Regions from separate parts of the Homo sapiens genome. Here all the other regions are linked to region 1. The links are contacts of gene promoters, found by promoter capture Hi-C in human tissues and cell types (Jung and others, 2019). All regions are on one chromosome and are shown on one strand. The core of a region is centred on a gene start or on the middle of the fragment in contact, and the rest is flanking DNA. Distances in the headings are between cores, read along the strand shown. Region 1 holds the start of CTXN1 (cortexin 1). Region 2 holds the start of CD320 (CD320 molecule). Region 3 overlaps CAMSAP3 (calmodulin regulated spectrin associated protein family member 3). Region 4 holds the start of XAB2 (XPA binding protein 2).

Region 1 (5,118 bases), core at 105-2,604:
GCAGACCTGTCTGTTTTTACCAAGGCTGAGTGGTTCCTGAGTCTAGGCAATTGTGCTGGCCTCTGCTCCCAGCCCCTGGGGAAGTTGCCGGTGGCTCCTGCCCCACAGAGCCTGGCCCCCCCCCAGAGCTGCCTGGGTCACCTCAACCCTCTCAACAGTGCCCTTCCCACCCCACCCTGCAGGACAAGGTGCTGCGGATGCTGTACGTGTGGGCGCTCTGCCGAGACCAGGACGAGCTCAACCCCTACGCGGCCTGGCGGCTCCTGGACATCTCGGCCTCCAGCACCGAGCAGATTCTCTGAGTGTGGTGCCGGAGCCAGGTAGCCCCGGCCTGGGTCATCAGGCACAGAGGCACCGCAACACCACCTGCGGCAACTCCAGACCTCTGGGAACAAGACTGCGGGCTCTGCCCCCAGCTCTGCCAGGACGGCTGCAAGACCAGCTGGCCCGGGAGGGGACAACGGGCTGTTGCGGGTGCGCGGCAGCTGGAGACACTCCCCCGCAGGGCCAACCCCTGCCCTGTTGCTCTGCCCTGCAGGGGTCCCGGCGCCTGGTCACCTGGGGTGCACACAGGTCACACAGTGCCAAGAGGCCCCAGGGCCCAGGGACTCCCCCCACAGCAGGGTGGGACCCGGGACCCGCGGCTCAGTGGCCCGCTAGCCACGTCAGCCAAGCCACTTTAGGTCCATTTTTTAATTTTAACAGTGCTCTTCCATCTTGTGCATAAGCCTGAGATTTGGAAAGAATAAAACACCGAATTGCAGAAGAGCAGCTACGGAGTCTGAAGTGTCTTCTCTGGCGCGGGAGTGGCCGAGGCGATGGTGGGGGTGGGAGCAGGCGGCTGCTGTGGGAGGCGGTCAAGGTCGAGTGAGGAACTGCAGCCGCAGTGGGTGGACGCCTTGCCCAGGGCTGGACCCTGAGTTGGAAGACGAGGCCAGTGACAGACAAAACTAGGGGGACTTACTCATCCCAGTGACCTGCCTGAGCTCTCTGAGAATTGAGGTCCCCAGGGCCGGGGGAGCTTGAGTGCCCATATGAGTGTTTTAGGGCCACTGAGGTCCCCCCACAAACAGGGAGTCTCGAGTGGGGTCTATCGCGGAGGAGAATGCAGGCACAGGGCAGGCTGGGGGGCCCGAAGTGCCAGGGGAGGTGGGAGTGGCAGCTGCCCACTCCCCGGCGAGGTCGTGGGTGCTCGCGGGTCCTCGGGGCTGGGGTTCCGTCCTCCCGCAGGCCCGGGCGGGGTCGCTGGCTCGCGCGCCGCTCCCTGCGCAGCCTCCGCCCCCTGCAGCCCCGCCCCCCGCGGCGGCCCCGCCCCCGTCGCCATAGGAACAGCCGCGGCGGCCCGGCTCGCGCGCTGCTTGCCTGCCTCGGTCTCCGCCGCTCCAGGGGCGGGTGGGGTGGGCTGAGCCGGAGCCCGGGCCGCCGCCGCCGCCGCCGGGGAGAGGCCGAACGCGCAGCCGGCGCGGGTCCCTGAGAGAGCGCGGCCGCCGGGCGGTCGGTCCCCGTCCGGGTCGAAGCCAGGGTGAGGGGCGCGCCGGGGCGGGGGCGGTGGGGGAGGGGGTCCCAGGCCGCCGAGAACAAAGGGAGCGGGGGCAGGGGCCGCGGGGACCGTCCCCACGCCGCGCGCCCGGGCCGCGGCCGCGCTTTCGCACCTGTTGTGTGCGGCCCAGGCCGGGCGCGGCTCCGTTTCCCGGCTCTCAGCGCCCCCACCTGCGCGCACGGCCAGAGTTGGGTCCCCGCGTGGTGGTGGCGGCGATCCGGCGGGCCGGGCATGGGCGTAGCCCGGGGACCGAGGCGCGGGCGGGGGATGGGGTCGGGCACGTTAAGGGAGGCGGCGGCGGCGGCGGCAGGAGGGGGCGAAGCGGAGGAGGCGCGGGAGGGAGGGCGCAGCCTCATCCCCGGCGCCCGGGGCGGGTCCCCTCCTCCGCAGGGCGCGCGGCGATGTGAGCCATGAGCGCGACGTGGACGCTGTCGCCGGAGCCCCTGCCGCCGTCGACGGGGCCCCCGGTGGGCGCGGGCCTGGACGCGGAGCAGCGCACGGTGTTCGCCTTCGTGCTCTGCCTGCTCGTGGTGCTGGTGCTGTTGATGGTGCGCTGCGTGCGCATCCTGCTCGACCCCTACAGCCGCATGCCCGCCTCGTCCTGGACCGACCACAAGGAGGCGCTCGAGCGCGGGCAGTTCGACTACGCGTTGGTGTGAGGGGCGCGGCGCCCCCTAGCCGGCCCTGCGCCGGGGTCTCAGAGGGCCGGCCCGGCGGGGGGCGCCGCGGGGCCAGGACTGCGCTCAGGATCCCGCCCCGGAGCCCCCAGCCCGGGGGAGAGGGGGAGGGAGTTGGGAGAAGCCCAGCCCCTCCCCCTCGAGACCCCTCCCATGTCCCTTCCTGGCCTGGCCGGAGCCCCACCTCGTGCCTTTATCCGCCCTGTCCCTTCCTCTCTGCGCATCTCACCCGCCCGGCTGGCCCCCACCCCCGACTCTGAATCCCGGGCGGGAGGAGGACCCCCGCACCGCCCCCTCCCCAGCGTGTAAGTGGCTCTGCTATTGTGCGTCCCTGGAAGTGGGGACCCCCTTGTCCCTCCTCCCTCCCCTGTTGTCTGGCCGTCGTCAACCCCACCTTGACTGAGTGTTGAGCCCGTCCTTGGGCTCTGGTCCCTGCGGGGCAGGCTCTCCCGGGCCCACGGGGCGGACGCTGCATACCAATTTGCCCTGCACCGCCTGTCCCGGAGACGGAGCCCGAAGGCCTGCCATGGCGGCTGTGTCGAGGATGCGTGGCGCCTGCCGTGGCGGGACAGCGTGGGCAGGCTCATTTCTGCCCCCAACCCGGGCCCCAGGACAGGTCAGCGCGCCCTGCCCCGGTGCCCACCGCTGCCCCCCATCCGCCCTCCTGCCACTTGCCCCTGACCCCCCTGCCGTGCCTCCCGCAGCCCTCCCATGCCGTTCCACTCCTCCCTGCCTCTGAGCCGAACATGATAATAAAAGCTATTATTGAGCGCTTACTGCATGCCAAGTAGCGTGCTGAGTTGGCACCTCCTGTTTATAGCCTGTCTCCTCTTCGGGATCGTGAGAATGAGCCAGGCCCTGTTAGCATCCCTATTCTACAGGCCAGGAGACCGAGGGCCAGGCAGCTCCAGTGACTGACTTGCCCACAGTCACATGGCTAGAGTCTGGTAGGGCTGGAAGTGGAACCCAGGTCTGGCTTTTGCATGTTTTTAAAGCTTCCCAGGGCTGCAAAGACACCAAGATCACAAGCACCTTTCACCGGCTTTGGGGGGGGGGGCTGATGTGTAACCCCCAGCTGCCTCCCCTCCACACACAATTCTGTTGATCTGGGGAGGCGCCGGGGGTGGTGAGAGAGACTCAGCCCTGTGGGGAACTGGGAGGCGCACCCTCTGCCAGCCCTGGAGGGAGGCTCCGACGACCGACCGTACCTGCAGCCTAAGCCTCCTCCCCCTGCCCACCACCATTGGCAGCGTTTGTGGGTCTGGTGCGGTGGGGCGGTGACCACGGACGGAGTGGGCTGGCTGTGCTCCAAGGCCCTCCCAAGAGATGTGCACCCCAGGGGAGCCGTGTGCAGTGTGTGGGGGGAGGAATGAGCGTTTCTATAAAAGGCAGGCTGGGTGAATGCACAGGCTCCGAGAACGGAGAATTTACCGACTTGGATTACTAGCTGGGCGTGGGACGCGGTGCCGTGGGAGGACATCTGCTTCCCTCTCTAGGACCCGACCCTCGGTCCACACCCACAGGGCAGGTGAAGCTGATGGAGGGGGCCTCAAGCGGGGTCCCAGCACCCCCAGGGGTTTGGGGTCAGCCCTGACTCCAGTACCCCTCCCTCCCCGCCTTCTAGGGATCCTTGAGGTCCCAAAGCCACCCCAGGGGACACTCCACTCCCACTAGCCTCCTGCCACTCGGGGCAGCCCACCCCTATCTATCTTCCTCTAACCGCCCAGCCTGGGGCTCAACTCCTTCCACCGGGTCACCCCCACTCTCTGCTGCCTTCTCCCCTCCACCTGTGCGATGTGATTTTGCCCTACTCTGAAACCCATCCCTGACGCCTGTCCCCAAGGTGCCCTGCCGGCTCTCCCCATCCACACTTGTCAGCTTCACAGTCACCAAGGGGCTCCTCACCCCAGGCCTCATCACACCAGTCAGGTGGCAGCTCTCCTCCCTGGCACACACCCCCAGCCCTGTGACCCCCAAGCTCTGACACTTCAGGGCCCCCACTTCCATCTTTAAGTCACAGGTGAAAGAGAAAGAGAATGATAACTTTATTCATGGTCACAGAATACCCCCGGGAAGGGGAAGGACCTGGCAGCAGGGAGTAACCACGACTGGTCAGTTGAAGAAGGTGAGGATGCTGGCCCCGAGGTGTACAGGAAGGGGGAAAATGTGCGAGGGCCTTTACGGTGGGCAGTGCCAGCTATGGCCCCCCAGCAGACAACAAGGCACAGTGGGGCTTGGGGACTGGGGGAGGCCAGCCCTGTCCGCCTGTCCTTGACATCAGGAGGCTTGTGAGTGGAGTCCTGCAACCCCCACCCAACCCCTGTACAACGGGGGTTCCATTTCTGAGACCCCCAAAGTATGGGGCATCTTAGAGGCCCGCCCCACAGCTGAGCATCATCTCAAGGACCTTCCCCCATGACGGGATCCTCAGAAAGAGCCAGGGCCAGCCGAGCAGAACCGAGGGGCAGGGCGGGGGGCCTGGTGTGGCCTCCTGCCCGCCATGCCCCTCACCTGGCAGGGGTGGCTGCCCGACCCAGAAGCTCCAGGGGCACCAGGAACGGGTTCAGGGGACAGATCCCAGCTGCTTGCCAAGGCGATTTCAGTTCGCTGTGCTCGGCCTTCTCGGTGGCTGGGGGGGTCTCCTCTGGTGCCTTGGAGCCAGCCCCATCCCCTTCTGCTGCAGGCCCCAGGCTCCCTCCAGCGGGAATGGGCTGGGGGGCTGTCAGGCGTAGGTACGTCTCCGTCATATGCTCAACCAGGGCTGTGCAGGGCAGGAGTGGCAGCTCCTCTGGAAGTGACATGAGCAGGTCGAGGACCACAGCGGACTCTAGTGATGGATGGAGGAGAGGGGTAAGGGGACACCCCTGCCTGCTGCCAGGGACCCTTGATCCCTCTGCTCCT
Region 2 (5,118 bases), core at 2,619-5,118, 380 kb before region 1:
CAGGTGGGTGGGGTGAGAGGGGAGGGTGCTCGTCCTGGACTTGCCGGCACAGGGTCTCCTGGGGGCTCCCTCTTGGCCAGCTCTGGGCCAGAGATGCGTTTTGCAGTTGCCATTTGCGCATGGATTCTCAGCCCCACCAGCCTGAGTCTTCCTGAGGGCGGTGCCCCATCTTCCTGGCTCTGCGCCCACACAGTAGCGCCTGCCATGCAGTTCTTGCCCAGTCTGAGGCAGGAATAGCTGGAGGCCATTGTCACCTGATCGCTTGGCCCTTTTGCCAGCATCCTGTTTTGAGGGGCAGCAGGAATGGGGGTGGGGGCCTTGTGTACGCTGGAGACCAAAAGTGGGAAGGGAGGAGCCCAGCTCTCCACAGTGGGTTCTGGGCCTGGGGGCCACAGCAGGGGGTTCATACAGGGCTCAGGGGAGAGAGGAGGCTTGCTAGCTCCCACCTGGCGTTGGCTGATCCTCTGAGGGGCTGCGTTGGAGGGGTTGGCATTCTGGAACACCCTGCTGTCTGTCCTGCAGGTCCAGAAAGTCCCTGTGGGTGTGTTTGTCCCGGGGCAGGTGTGGGCTCCCTCAGATCTTTCCACACTGTTCTTTGGAAACCCTCACTGAAGTCTTTCCCTCCTCCAGCTCTGCTGTAGCTGCCACTGAGAAGAAGGCGGTGACTCCAGCTCCTCCCATAAAGAGGTGGGAGCTGTCCTCGGACCAGCCTTACCTGTGACACTGCACCCTCACGGCCACCCGACTACTTTGCCTCCTTGGATTTCCTCCAGGGAGAATGTGACCTAATTTATGACAAATACGTAGAGCTCAGGTATCACTTCTAGTTTTACTTTAAAAAATAAAAAAATAGAGACAGAGTCTCACCATGTTTCCCAGGCTGATCTTGAACTCCTGGCCTCAAGCGATCCTCCTGCCTTGACCTCCCAAAGTGCTGGGATTACAGGCATGAGCCACCACACCTGGCCTGATTTTATTTTTATTTTTTAGACCTTCCCACTGAGGCCTCTGCTTGACCTTGGTCACCCTGTAGCTCAACGGGGAAGGCAAAGGACAGTGAGGGCTGCTTACAGGGAAGGCAGACCTAGGGCAGATCAGGAAAGGCCTCCCTGAGCCAGAAACCATTATGCTGGGGCTGTGGGATGAGAATGAGTTAGCTCCAGAAGGAAGGCAGCTGGTTCCTGGGGAGGAGATAGAAATCTGGCTGCAGGAGCCAGAGTTTTCGCGCTTGTCACCCAGGCTGGAACGCAACGGCACGATCTCAGGTCACTGCAACCTCTGCCTCCTGGGCTCAAGCAATTCTGCCTCAGCCTCCCGAGTAGCTGGGACTACGGGTGTGCACCACCATACCCGCTAATTTTTTTTTTTTTTTGTAGAGATGGCCAGGCTGGTCTCAAATTCCTGACCTCAGGTGATCCGCCCGCCTTGGCCTCCCAAAGTGTTGGGATTACAGGTGTGAGCCACCACGCCTGGCCCCTGATTTTAAGCAATACCCAGCTTACTTGGATTTTGGGGTGAAGTCAGTGCTGAGTCTCCCAACTCTGTTGGCACTCCAGGGGTGGGACAGACACTGTCCCTGGGTGCAGAGGCCCTGGAGACAGCACTGCCCTTTCCCCCAAAGGCCAGGCTCTGACCTTGAGAGTGGTGGGAGTGGGTGATCCTTCTGGGAGGTTGGACTCCCAGGACCGCTGGCTGTTGGGGAGCATTGATTGTGAAGACCAGTCAGGTGGGGTAAGGGGTGTATGTGCGGACACTCAGTAGGCCAGCCACAGACTTCTCACTTCTTTTTTTTTTTTGAGACAGAGTTTCGCTCTTGTTGCCCAGGCTAGAGTACAATGGCGCGATCACGGCTCACTATAACCTCTGCCTCCTGGGTTCAAGTGATTCTCTTGCCTCAGCCTCCCGAGTAGCTGGGATTACAGGCGCCTGCCACAAGCCCAGCTAATTTTTGTATTTTTAGTAGAGACGGGGTTTCGCCATGTTGGCCAGGCTGGTCTCAAACTCCTGACCTCAAGTGATCCGCCCACCTCTGCCTCCCGAAGTGTTGGGATTACAGGCGTGAGCCACCGCGCCTGGCCTAACTTCCATCTCTTGAGGGCTCCCACAGCCACTTCTCACATGAACCTTCCTCAGCACCTTCCCACTGAGGCTCCTGCTTGACCATGGTCACCCTGCAGCTCAACGGGGAAGGCAGAGGACAGTAAGGGCTGCTCACAGGGAAGGCAAACCTAGGGCAGATCAGGAAAGGCCTCCCTGAGCCAGATCCCATTATGCTGGGGCTGTGGGATAAGAATGAATTCGCCCCAGAAGGAAGGCAGCTGGTTCCTGGGGAGGAGACAGAAATCTGCAAAGGGAGGGTGTCCAAGTCTGGCTGCAGGAGCCACCCAGTGACCCTACGCAGGGGAGTGTCATGGCTTCCCCAGGGCACAGCCCCAGACCCTTCAGCAGCTAAAAAAGATCAGCTGTGGACCAAGAGGGTGCTGAGACCGCCCTGCCCTCTGGAAGGGGAAAGGCCACGGCTACAGGCAGCAGGTACCAGTGTCCCAGAGTGGGTCCTACAAAGGCTAACACCTTCCTGGAGAAGGTGGGATTCTGCTTGGGGCAAAAGGATGAATCAGATTCAGAAAGGTCAGGAGGGAAGGAAAGACTAGGCAGGGTGTGCAGAGGCCACAAGGAGGGCAAGACCCTAGGCAAGGCATGCCGCTGACGGCATCTGAACCAAGTTTTATGACCACAACTTTTTTTTTTTTTTGAGACAGAGTCTCACTCTGTCACCCAGGCTGGAGTTCAATGATGTGGTCTCGGCGCACTGCAACCTCCGCCTCCCGGGTTCAAGCGATTCTCCCATCTCAGCCTCCCTAGTAGCTGGGACTACAGGAGCATGTTACCACACCCGGCTAATTTTTGTATTTTTGGTAGAGACGGGAGTTTTACTATGTTGGCCAGGCTGGTTTAGAACTCCTGACCTCGTGATCCGCCTGCCTCGGCCTCCCAAAGTGCTGGGGTTAACAGGCGTGAGCCAGCGCGCCGGCCAACTTTTCTAACAAATGGGGTCTCACTGTCACCCACGCTGGAGTGCAGCCCCAAGTGATTCTCCCACCTCAGCCTCCTGAGTAGCTGGGACTACAAATTAGAGCCACCATGCCCAGCTAATTTTCTTTTTTCTTGAGGCGGGCGGGGACTTGCTGTGTTGCCCAGGCTGATCTCGAACTCCTGGGCTCAAGCGATCTGCCCGCCTCTGCTTCCCAAAATGCTGGGATCACACACGTGACCCACCGCGCCCGGCCTTTATTATTAAATTTAATTAATTAATTGATTTCCTTTCCTTTTTCCCCCCCAAGCAACCCGACTCCGAGAATGGACGTTTCATTTATTCATTTACTCACCAAATGTTTACTAAGAGCCTACTATGAGTCAAGCACTATGTGTCAGATCCTGAGAATAAAGCAGTGAGCAACAGAAGATCCCTGCCCTCCAGTAGCTAGCATTCTATGGGGACTCGGACAACAAACCAGAATAAGTAAATAAAATAAATTACCTGTCGGCGCCACAAAAGCAGTGGGATGAGGGAGGAAATGCGGAGTGCCTGAGGGGCGTGGCTGCCATATTAAAGAAGATCACGAGGCAGTAACATTTGCAGCAGTCCTCATTTGGAACGGGAAATAATGCAAATGAACACCAACAAATTCCTTCCCATCCCCAGAAGTTTCTAACTTCAAGCGGGCTCCATACCTTTCAACTGATCTGGTCACTGGGGAAAGTGGGGACGGGCCTCTAATTCTCTTTTCCCTGCTATTCTGACATTTACGGTACGCGTAGCCGCGGGCGCCGCAGAACTCAGGGGCTTGGGCCCCGCCCCAACCCCGCGCGTGCGCGTGCGCAGGGATAAGAGAGCGGTCTGGACAGCGCGTGGCCGGCGCCGCTGTGGGGACAGCATGAGCGGCGGTTGGATGGCGCAGGTTGGAGCGTGGCGAACAGGGGCTCTGGGCCTGGCGCTGCTGCTGCTGCTCGGCCTCGGACTAGGCCTGGAGGCCGCCGCGAGCCCGCTTTCCACCCCGACCTCTGCCCAGGCCGCAGGTGAGTGACGCCCCGCAGCGCGGGCTCCCACCCCTCGCGAGGCTTCGCCCCGCCGCCGCGCACCGACAACGCCTAGTCACTGGCTGCACCGCACGTCAGTTCATGACACTCCCCCAGCACGTGGACTTGGACTTCATCGCTTGTGGGAAGGCGCGCACTGGTGCTAGGAAGACCCCATGCTGGGGGAGGGGAGGAGGGTGTCTCCACCTGCCTTTAACGGTTTTGCTCCGGCCCTGCACACCGTCTCCACACCTGCTGTGCCCTGTCGTCCCCCATTGTCACCTCCAAGCCGCCCTTCATACCAGCGTGGTCAGGAAAGCTCTTAGCAGGCTCAGATTGTCCGACCGCTAATCACGCAGGACGGGTCACCTGGTGCCTCTCGCACCTTTGCCTTCCAAACCCTCGCGCCCAGGCCTTGTGACCGTTCCGCAACCGTCCCTGCCCTCCCAGTCTCTCCTCCTTTGTCCTCCATCCTTAGAGAACGCGAGGTCTCTCCCCCCCATGCTACTGCAGGCTCTCGCAGAGACTGGGGTCACAAGTTGAATATACCCCCGTGGACGTGTTCGCCCTGGCCTAAGAGGTATTGGTGGCCAGTGGGGACGGGCTCCCTCTCTGATACCCCTAGAGGCAGCTGGAGGGTTGGAGTGGCCTCCCTGTGCACTCAGGCACTCCCAACTTGCAGCCCTGGGCTCAGGCTCACACACTTTCCCAGCTCCTTTGTGCATTCCGCACTTCTAGGTCCCTGGACTCATCCCAAAGTCCCTGACATTCACGTTAAATGTTCCTGGGTTTTTTTTTGTTTGTTTTTTTTTAAGGAGGCAGCGTTCACGTTAACCAAGTACAAAAGTTTTTGTTTTTTTTTTTTTGAGTCTCCCTCTGTCGCCCTGGCTGGAGTGCAGTGCAATGTTGGCTCACTGCACCCTCCGCCTCCCGGGTTTAAGCAATTCTCATGCCTCAGCCTCCCGAGTAGCTTGGGACTACAGGCACCGTCACCATGCCCGGCTAATTTTTGTATTTTTAGTAGAGATGGGGTTTCACCAT
Region 3 (5,118 bases), core at 831-3,330, 320 kb after region 1:
CAGGAAGGCGCTTTTGCCCAGCCGCTGGCGGTGCTTGGCGAATATGGCCTCAATCCGTCGCTTCTGAGCCTCGATGGCTCTGCGTTTCTCCTCCAGCCGGGCGCTGAGCTCACTCATCTCCGAGCTCAGGGCCTCCGGCGGGGCCGGAGTGGACGTGGGGGACCCCGCTCCGGCCTCAGCCTCTGCCTTCACCAGCTGTTTCTTGCGTTCTGCAAAGCTGGTCATTTTCACCTCGGAGTTGGTGGCTGCTGGGGACGAAGCCACCGCCTTCGGGGACCCCTCGGATGGGGCTGGCGGTTTCGATGCCTCCCCCACCAGACAGGGAGATGGTTTCGAGGGGGTCTCGGGGTGTGGCATGTACACTGGTGCTTTGGTGGGCCTGTCGGACAGTGGTTTGGAGGTCCCCTCGGGCAGGTAGGGGGAGGCCAGGGATGGCTTGGAGGGCCCCTCAGGGGAGTGGAGGTAGAAGCTGCCGTCGGCCGCCCCATCTGGGAGGAGCCGGGGCTCGGCACTGTGGATGATCTGCAGAGCTTCCTCGATGGTGGGCAGGTCACCAGGCTCCGGGGGTGGCTGGGTGGGGGTCCTGGCCGGCGCGGGACGCGGGGGGCCCAGGCTGTCCGAGCTCACAGAGCGGAGGAGCACAGGGTCTCCCATGACGACATCCACGTCGCTGTCCAGGCCAAAGGGGGTGCTGAATGACACAGCCTGGGAGAGGGGACGGCTGGGCGGCCGGAGGGAGGGGTCAGCCCCTGGGACCAGCCTCGGCCCCAACCCGCCCTAGCCTGCTCCACCCCCTACCCTGGCCTGTGAGGTCTACTCACCTGAGCTGCCGGTTCCAGGCCTTGCCCAGGGCCTCCATATGGGACATGGACGGGGAAGACTTCAGGGAGCCTGGGGGAGGCGATGAGTGGTCACTATGGGGACCCTGGGAACCCTGAGTGGGGTCAGCCAGCATCTGGGGACAACCTCTGCAAGGTCATTGGGTGAGTCACTGATGGCTCATTATGTGGTCTAGTGAGACCAGAGGTTTCCAGAAACAGATACCCGGGGCCATTTACTGTCACTACGGGGTACTGTGGGGCCACTGGGGAGGCCATTCTGGGGGTCACTTTGGGATGCCCAAGGGGGATCTGATGGAGAGGCTATTGGAAGGCTCACGAGGAGACAACATGAGGCCCACTGGGGCAGTCTGTGAGTGGGGGGGTCCCCCGTGACAGAAGCCACCTACCCCCTCCTCACCTGTGGATCCTCGGAGTGGGGACTGGGGGCCACCAGATGACAGAAGCGGGTGGCGGAAGGTGAAGACAGGAGAACTGTACGGAGAGACGTACTTCAGCCTCAGGACCCCCACCTCCTCCTCCGCCTCTCCCCGGGGGGAGACAACAGCATCACCCAGCTGCGTCCCAGTGCTCAGCAAGGCAGACATGGAGCCCCACACCCACAATGCCAGAGACTCGCCCAGTGTGGGGAGCGTACCTACTGCCGCTGTTGTTCTGAGGTGGGGAGGCCTCAGTGCCCCGGGGGGAGGCAGCTGCAGTACAGAGAAGAGGGTCAGGCGGGGGTTTGGCTCTCCCACCCGCCCCCGACCCGGCCCCCAGGCCCCCAGGGCCTCACCGTGACCATCGGGCAAGTCCTTCACTTGCACAAAGTCGGGCTTGAGCACCTCAAAACACATGAACAACTCGGCCAGCATCACCACCAAGTTGACCTGGAGGTGGGAGGCCGGGTCAGCAGACGGGACCCCTGGCCCCAGATGCCCGCCTCGGCCCAGGAGGCCCCAGGATGGCCTTACCTTGAGTGGCGGTGGGACGTACAGCAAGTCCTCAAGGGACAGGGGGCAGCCACGAGGAAGGCGAGAGGCACAGAAATCCTGCACGAGCTGGAGGTTGTACAGGCTGTCCGCCACAGACATGGGGTCCTTCAAGCACACCTCTGTGGGGACAGGAGGAGTGGGTCCCCAACTCTATGAGGAGGAGGATGGGGCCCCAGGGAAGCCAGGGACCAGCAGTCCCCCACACACGGAAGACCTCCTATGAGCCCAGCTTCTGCCAGGTGCCCTTCGAGAGGTGAATTCTTTTTTTTTTTTTTTTGAGATGGAGTCTCGCTCTGTCACCCAGGCTGTAGTGCAGTGGCGCAATCCCAGCTCACTGCAACCTCTGCCTCCCGGGTTCAAGTGATTCTCCCACCTCAGCCTCCTGAGTAGCTGGGATTACAGGAGTGTGCCACAACACCAGGCTAATTTTTTGTGGTTTTAGTAGAGATGGGGTTTCACCGTGTTAGCCAGGATGGTCTCGATCTCCTGACTTCATGATCCGGCCGCCTCAGCCACCCAAAGTGCTGGGATTACAGGCGTGAGCCACTGTACCCGGCCGAGGTGAATTATATGATAGACCGTCCTTAGGCCGGGGGTCCTTAACCCCCGGGGCGTGGCCTGTCAGGAACTGAACCGTACAGCAGGTGAGCTGCAGTGAGTGTATTTACAGCCGCTCCCCGTCACTTGCAGGACCACCCGAACCCCGCTTCCGTCAGATCAGCGGCGGCATTCGATTCTTACAGGAGCGCGAACCCTATTGTGAACCTGGCGTGTGAGGGATCTAGGTTGCACCCTCCTTATGAAAATCGAATGCCTGATGATCTGTCACTGTCTCTCATCACCCCCAGCTGGGACCGTCTAGTTGCAGGAACAAGCTCAGGGCTCCCACTGGTTCCCCATGATGATGAGTTGTAGAATTATTTCATTCTATGTTACAACGTATTAGATATAAAGTACATAATAAAGATTAACGTGCTTGAATTATCCCAAGACCACCTCCCTGCCTCCATCTGTGGAAAAATTGTCTTCCACAAAACCGGTCCCTGGAGCCAAAAAGTTGGTGACTATTGCCTTAGGCCTTTGCATCTTTCTAGAACACTCTCCCCCAAGACCTCAGCTCAAAAAGCTTTTCCGGGCCAGGTGTGGTGGCTCACACCTGTAATCTTAGCACTTGGGGAGGCTGAGGTGGGAGGATGTTTGAGCCCAGGGATTCAAGACCAGCTTGGGCAACATAGCAAGACCCCATCTCTATTTTATACTTTTTTTTTTTTTTTTTTGAGATGGAGTCTCGCTCTGTTGCCCAGGCTAGAGTGCAATGGCATGGTCTTGACTCACTGCAACCTCCACTTCCTGGGTTCAAGCGATTCTCCTGCCTCAGCCTCCTGTGTAGCTGGGATTACAGGCGCCCGCCACCGCACCCGGCTAATTTCTGTATTTTTAGTAGAGACGGTTTCACCATCCTGGCCAGGCTGGTCTTGAACTCGTGACCTCGTGATCCACCCGCCTCGGCCTCCCAAACTGCTGGGATTACAGGCGTGAGCCACCACACCCAGCCCTATAATTTTTTTTTTAATAAAAAAGAAAAAAGAGTTTTTTTAAAAAAAGCTTTTTCTGACCACCCATTGCCTTTAGGACTACCCAGTATGCAAAAAGTACTTCTGGGCCGGGTGCAGTGGTTCACACTTGCAATCCCAGCACTTAGGGAGGCCAAGGTAGGCAGATCACTTGAGGTCAGGAATTCGACACCAGCCTGGCCAACACGGTGAAACCCGTCTCTACTAAAAATACAAAAATTAGCCAGGCGTGGTGGCGTGTGGCTGTAGTCCCAGCTACTCAGGAGGCTGAGGCAGGAGAATGGCTTGAACCTGGGAGGTGGAGGTTGCAGTGAGCCGAGATCATGCCATTACACTCCAGCCTGGGCAACAGAGCAAGACTCCCGTCTCAAAAAAAAAAAAAAAAAAGTACTTTTGGATAAACTTAGTATCTTTCTCTCCCAGCTAGAGCCGTCTGTGAAGTGGGGAGTGTGTCTCTATTCTGGCTGGATCCCCAGTGCCTAAAACAAGGTCTGGCACACAGTCCACACTCCATACGTTTCATCTGCTGCAGGAATGAACTCCTGGAAGCACAGAGAGGTTTATATACTTGTGTGAGGTCACAAAGCTCATTGGGGAAGAGAGAGACACAAACTCAGGCCTGCCAGTTCCGGAAGCTGCCCTCATGACCACTGCATCGTTGCTGGTCTCGCGGACCTGGGGATGGAGGGTCTAGGGGCTGGGACTTAGGATGCCCAGCTCCCCGGCACAAGATCTGTTCCACATCCATTTACTCACCCTCAAGTCGAAGCAGCTGGGGACAATAGCAGTGGATGGTGGCGGCCAGCGCGGCCCCACTGGCCAGGTCCTGGAGGCTGGTCACCGTCGGGAAGCAGGGGGCACGTCGCGCCACCACACGGTCCTTGCGGTATCGGATCTGCAGATGGGAGCCAGGTCAGGTGAGTGGCCAGGCTGGCCCCCAGGGTCAGCGGTCATGCAGGCTGGGCAGGGAGGCCTGGGGTTTCCGCCATGAGGGGGCGGGAAGCTGGGGGTCCCAGAGACAGAGTTGGGGGGCCAGCCTGGAGCAGGGGAGGGGCAGCAGCAAGAGGCAGAGGAGATGTCTTCGAGCAGCCAGGCCAGCAGCGGGGGCTGGGGACAGGGACTCCTGGGACCCCGGGGCGGGGGATACATTACCATGGGGGGTTTGCTCCCCGACTCCTTCAAACAGAAGGCAATTGCGTGCTGGGGGGAGAGGAGCAGCCATCAGCAAGGGGGAGGGGTGCTGACCTGCTGGGCCCCCAAGCCCACCTTGGGGGGGAGGGGGTAGCCCTGACCCTGGTCCTGAGCCCCGGCCGTCCAGCTCCCTGACTGCTCTGGCCGGCTTCGCGAACCCCAGCTCCTCCCAGCCCCAAGGGACCCCACAGAGTAGGAACCCCCTCTTATGCGGGGAATCCTCCTCCCACAAAAGACCCAGGCCCCCAGCTTGGGGAGAGGATGCAGAGGAAGCGGGTAGGCAGGAAGGGAACCTCCCAACCCAGGCCCCAGGGTGGGGGAAGGAGTGAGCAAAGGTGGGGACGCCAGCCAGCCCAAAACCTCCCCCACTTCCTCCTTGTTTATCTACTATGGGAGTAATTTATATGAAGCACAGAGAGGTTTAGATACTTCTGCAAGGTCACACAGCTCATTCAGGGAAGAGAGAAATTTCAACTTCCAGCTTCAGGGATGGGCCTCCTCCTCCTTTTCAAAGCTGGGATTTTTCTCTAGGGAAGCTGG
Region 4 (4,312 bases), core at 1-2,500, 300 kb after region 1:
GAGCCAAAGGCCTCCAGAGCCCCACATCAGGGCAGGGTCGGCTTATGGGAGGCAGACATTAGTCCCCAGCAGACTGCTGCCCCACACCCTCTCCCACCCCTGGAATGAACCCTCAAACACTCCTCTTATGCCCACCTTGCGCTGTATGACATCGTCCTCAAACCACTCGGCCTGATTGGAAACCCAGAACATAGCCACAGGGAAAGTGAGGTAGATTATCATCTGGAATGGCAGAGGGTGGGTGAGGTGAGCTCCCCCCAAGCAATGTGCAGAGGCTCCTCAGAGCCTGGGGGACCCATCCTACTGCAGAGTCCAGAAGCGCCTCGTTACGGCCGACCCAAGAATCCCAGAACTCCCACCAAGGGTACAGAAACCTCGCACCCTAAAACCTAACTCCTATAATCCAGGAGGCCTCATTCCTGAAAGTTCCCTCTGAGCTGGAGTCTTCCTCTCAAACACAGACAGACACACAGACGCCCCAGCTACAATCAAAAGCATCTCCTCGAGACCTCATTACCCATCCCCACTTAAGATCCCGGGAGCACCCCCAAACCCAGGAGGCGTCACTCTTCAACTCCACTTCTCGAAGTCTAGGAATCTCCCTGTCATAGACACCCACCCACCACGAGCCCGAGAGCTCCCCCAGGATCTTAAGTCTTCCTTCTTTAGAGCCCCCTTCTCAGCTCACCCCTCTCTGAGGTCCTTCCTCGGACCAGCCCTCTCACAGCCCCCAAACCCAGAAGCCCAAATCCGAGAACCCCCCCAGCCCAGCGTCCCCTCTCCTGGATTTCCAACCAGAAAGGTTCCTCTCAAATCTTAAGAGCTTTCTCCTTGGAGCTCCCTCTTCCTTTGAAGTCCCCCCATTTCCAACCTCATCTTCAGATCCAGGAAGATCCCCTGCCCAGCCTCCCAACCCACTCCTGTGTCCACTGACCCGAAATATCTCCAGCTTCACCCCCATCTCGTTTCTCCCGGTCAACAAAGCCAGTTCCGCCCAAAGCCGACCCTCCAGCAAGACAGAAGCTCACTGGTGTTTTGCACGCTCCATTGCTGAAGCTGATTGGCCAATGTGTATCCTGATGGCGCATCTTCTGGCGCCTCTATTCTGCTTCCGGTCGCTGGCGTCGTCGAAAAGAAGTCAATAACGTGGGCCTGTCCGTCAAAAATGATTTAACCAATAGAAAACGGGTCTGGCTCGGAGGGGCGGGCCGTCAGTGGTAGACGTCATAAGCGCGCGACTCTCTCCTGTACCTGGGCATCCAGAAAAATGGTGGTGATGGCGCGACTCTCGCGGCCCGAGCGGCCGGACCTTGTCTTCGTGAGTCCACAGAGGAGCCGGGGGTGGCCTGCGTTGGGGCATTGGGACCTGGACGCCGCAGGGGATCGAGGCTGGGTCGGCAAGGAGATTTAGGCCGAAACTGCCAGGCCAAGGTCTGGGAACCCTAATGGGCCAGAGACCGGATCGTCATGTCCGCACCGAACTGTCCAGGAGTAAAAATATGGTGTTGTATCTTCGGGTCTGAGTAGAAAACCACTGTCGAAGGGAAGCGTCTAGCCTCCCGAACCAGGGGCGGAAATGGGGGCGTGCAGGGAATGGGAGAGGAGGAAGATCGCATAACTGAACCTTGAGAGGTGAAGATCGGTGTCTGAAGTAAAGGCTTGCTTACGAGGCCAGGGTTCTGGTTTCTGGGATGAAGGCTTGGTTTTCTGGATAGCGGTCTCTAGGCCTGGACTGCAGCATGACAGTTTCTGGGGTGGTGGCCAGGCTAGAAGAACCCTGGTGATGTGGAGCTTGTCAGGCGATGGCCAGTGAAATACTTACTCTCTGGAGTAGAGGCGTGACATCTTCACCAGATTCTTGGTGTGCAGAGTTAAAGGCTTGGCTTCTGGTGTATAACTCCTCCTGTGAGATAAAGGCCTAGCTTTTAATTTCTGGGGCAGAGTTGAGCTAGACGCTGGCTAGTGGGATCCTGGGGGCGGGGCTAGTGGCTTGGAATCTGGACCTGAGAGCCCTGGTGGCTGGGGTAAAGATCTGGTCATCTGGGCCTGGGGTGGAGATGGGTCAGATGGTGACAGTGGGAGTCTGAGGGGCCAAAGGCCTGGTGTCTGGGAAGAGGCACGTTTTGAAGAAGTGGGGTCTGGTGTCCAGGACTGGCATCTGGGCCAGGGCCTTGGTATCTAAGGAGTCTGACCATCTGGGGCAGAAAGCGAGTGGTGATGCGGACTCATTCCTGGCCCAGAGCCCTAATGACTGAGAAGTCTGATGATTTGGGTTCGATTTTGGGTAGTTGAATTCTGAGGGGTAAAGGTCTGGGCCACTGTCTTGGTGTCGGGCATCTGGTTTGGTGCCTGGGCATCTGGTGACCTGACTTCCTTGGTGGGTGGTGGGATCTAGGTAAAAGTCCGGAGTTTGGACCTGAGCCCCAGCAGTGGGATGGTGCTGCACACAGGCTCTGAGGGTAGGCCTCTCTTCTTCCCATTCCCTGGCCCTGGCAGGAGGAAGAGGACCTCCCCTATGAGGAGGAAATCATGCGGAACCAATTCTCTGTCAAATGCTGGCTTCGCTACATCGAGTTCAAACAGGGCGCCCCGAAGCCCAGGCTCAATCAGCTATACGAGCGGGCACTCAAGCTGCTGCCCTGCAGGTGGGAATGGCTCCAGCTGCCCTGCCCACCAGCCCCCACCCCACCTGGTCCAGTTATAACAAAACTGCCAAGTGGGTCCCGGGTCCCGGGTGATTGCTTCGTGTTTCATCACTGACCTGTACATCCCTTGATGGGTCAGCACACCTTCTCTGATGTCCCAGTCTGTCCCTGTCATTGCTGAGACATGTCACCCCTCCCACACCCCTTCTTCCCACATTTGCCAACTGGGGCAGGGCAAATGGTTCTGGGGGTGTCCATAAAGCTGACCGATCAGCATCTGTCCCCTCCTATTCCCCAGCTACAAACTCTGGTACCGATACCTGAAGGCGCGTCGGGCACAGGTGAAGCATCGCTGTGTGACCGACCCTGCCTATGAAGATGTCAACAACTGTCATGAGAGGGCCTTTGTGTTCATGCACAAGGTTTGGGGCTCGGCGAGGGGATGAATCGGGAAGTGGAGCTCAGTCCATGGTGGTGGGTGGGGCGGGGACAGGGGCTGGGCTCAGCATGTTAGGGATGGGGGCTTGGATTCCTGTTGCTTCTTTGCATGGGAAGTTGGGCTGGACTCAGTCCTGGAGCTGGGGGTTTCTGGGTCCCGCCGCATTTATGTGGTGGCCCCAGGTGTGGCTCAGCCACAGGACATCGAGTGTCTGTGGCCAGGCCATGGAGTCCGTGGCTTAGCCCCAGCCGCCTCTCCCCACACCCCCAGATGCCTCGTCTGTGGCTAGATTACTGCCAGTTCCTCATGGACCAGGGGCGCGTCACACACACCCGCCGCACCTTCGACCGTGCCCTCCGGGCACTGCCCATCACGCAGCACTCTCGAATTTGGCCCCTGTATCTGCGCTTCCTGCGCTCACACCCACTGCCTGAGACAGCTGTGCGAGGCTATCGGCGCTTCCTCAAGGTGAGCCTAGCAGGTGCGCTGGTTCCCCAGGTTAGTTTCCAGAAACGGCCTCACTGTGACACTAGCTCCGCGTAGGATGTCACCCAGCAGACGGGATGTGGGAAGAGGCTCCTGGAGATGCATGTGTTTTGTTGTTGTCCGTGATTCATGTCTTTATTTTCCAAATAGTTTGTTCACACTGGTTTCACATTAGGCATAGCGATGGGTGCTGAGGACAGTGTGACTAAGACACTCCCTGCCTGCACGGAGCTTTTAGTCTAAGTAGGAAGACAGATGCATATGAGCTGATGGCATGAACTAGAGTAAAACCACAGCCATGAAGAGGGCCAGGAATAGGGGTGGGGAGAAGCAGGCAGGGTGGAGAGTGGAAGCACCAGCCGGGCGGGAGTGGGGCATGGTTTGCTCAAACTTAAAGTATCTGTTTTATGACGTTTGGATTCTAAGCTGGACCAGTCAGGACTGAGGCTGGACCCGTGGGGCCCAGGCTGGACACTATAGTCAAGGCTGGACCCATGGGATCAAGGCTGACCCAAAGGGGCCAAGGCTAGACCAGTCAGGACTGAGGCTGGACTAGTGGAGCCAAGGCTGGACCCATTGTGGGTTGGGGGTCAATTCTAACCCAAAAGGACCAAGGCTGGACCATTGGGGCTGAGACTGGACCACCGCAGTCAAGGCTGTGCCCTTGCGGGTCAAGGCTAACCCAAAAAGTCCACAGCTGGTCTAGTCAGGACTGAGGCTGGACCAGTGGAGCCAAGGCAGG

What was found. The method cuts DNA at HindIII sites, captures the fragments that hold promoters and counts their contacts. A contact is called where the count stands out against the background at its distance.
Region 2: a contact is called between the fragment with the promoter of CD320 here and the fragment with the promoter of CTXN1 in region 1, in 1 of the 25 tissues and cell types used here (dorsolateral prefrontal cortex).
Region 3: a contact is called between a fragment that was not itself captured here and the fragment with the promoter of CTXN1 in region 1, in 1 of the 25 tissues and cell types used here (lymphoblastoid cells).
Region 4: a contact is called between the fragment with the promoter of XAB2 here and the fragment with the promoter of CTXN1 in region 1, in 1 of the 25 tissues and cell types used here (dorsolateral prefrontal cortex).

Annotation. Positions count from the first base shown.
Region 1 is chr19:7,922,371-7,927,488 of GRCh38, reverse strand. It overlaps CTXN1 (cortexin 1), which reads left to right and starts at 1,354. Exons shown (of 2, transcript NM_206833.4): 1 at 1,354-1,522; 2 at 1,931-2,998. The coding sequence starts at 1,951. The coding sequence ends at 2,199. It overlaps TIMM44 (translocase of inner mitochondrial membrane 44), which reads left to right. Exons shown (of 13, transcript NM_006351.4): 13 at 183-771. The coding sequence ends at 302. LOC124904629 (a long non-coding RNA gene) reads right to left here and starts at 2,084. Exons shown (of 2, transcript XR_007067120.1): 1 at 1,653-2,084; 2 at 679-916. SNAPC2 (small nuclear RNA activating complex polypeptide 2) reads right to left here. Exons shown (of 5, transcript NM_003083.4): 5 at 4,239-5,044. The coding sequence ends at 4,725. RefSeq lists an enhancer at 1-673 and silencers at 1,170-1,439, 1,970-2,059. The HindIII fragment of the contact is 9,564 bases long and covers 1-4,858 here.
Region 2 is chr19:8,307,108-8,312,225 of GRCh38, reverse strand. CD320 (CD320 molecule) reads left to right here and starts at 3,868. Exons shown (of 5, transcript NM_016579.4): 1 at 3,868-4,077. The coding sequence starts at 3,936. NDUFA7 (NADH:ubiquinone oxidoreductase subunit A7) reads left to right here. Exons shown (of 4, transcript NM_005001.5): 4 at 631-942. The coding sequence ends at 721. RefSeq lists enhancers at 1-285, 3,040-3,569, 3,625-4,364, 4,249-4,378, 4,365-5,105 and silencers at 3,766-4,104, 4,079-4,168. The HindIII fragment of the contact is 38,311 bases long and covers 1-5,118 here.
Region 3 is chr19:7,607,290-7,612,407 of GRCh38, reverse strand. It overlaps CAMSAP3 (calmodulin regulated spectrin associated protein family member 3), which reads right to left. Exons shown (of 17, transcript NM_020902.2): 5 at 4,144-4,282; 6 at 1,793-1,932; 7 at 1,615-1,708; 8 at 1,477-1,531; 9 at 1,240-1,313; 10 at 822-891; 11 at 1-721. Among named protein-coding and RNA genes, the nearest start is that of MIR6792, 7.6 kb to the left of the region's middle. The HindIII fragment of the contact is 6,069 bases long and covers 1-5,114 here.
Region 4 is chr19:7,626,483-7,630,794 of GRCh38, reverse strand. XAB2 (XPA binding protein 2) reads left to right here and starts at 1,250. Exons shown (of 19, transcript NM_020196.3): 1 at 1,250-1,318; 2 at 2,497-2,645; 3 at 2,944-3,067; 4 at 3,355-3,552. The coding sequence starts at 1,268. PET100 (PET100 cytochrome c oxidase chaperone) reads right to left here and starts at 1,002. Exons shown (of 4, transcript NM_001171155.2): 1 at 935-1,002; 2 at 136-222. The coding sequence starts at 961. It also overlaps a transcript of STXBP2 not described here. RefSeq lists enhancers at 909-958, 1,219-1,338. The HindIII fragment of the contact is 19,448 bases long and covers 1-4,312 here.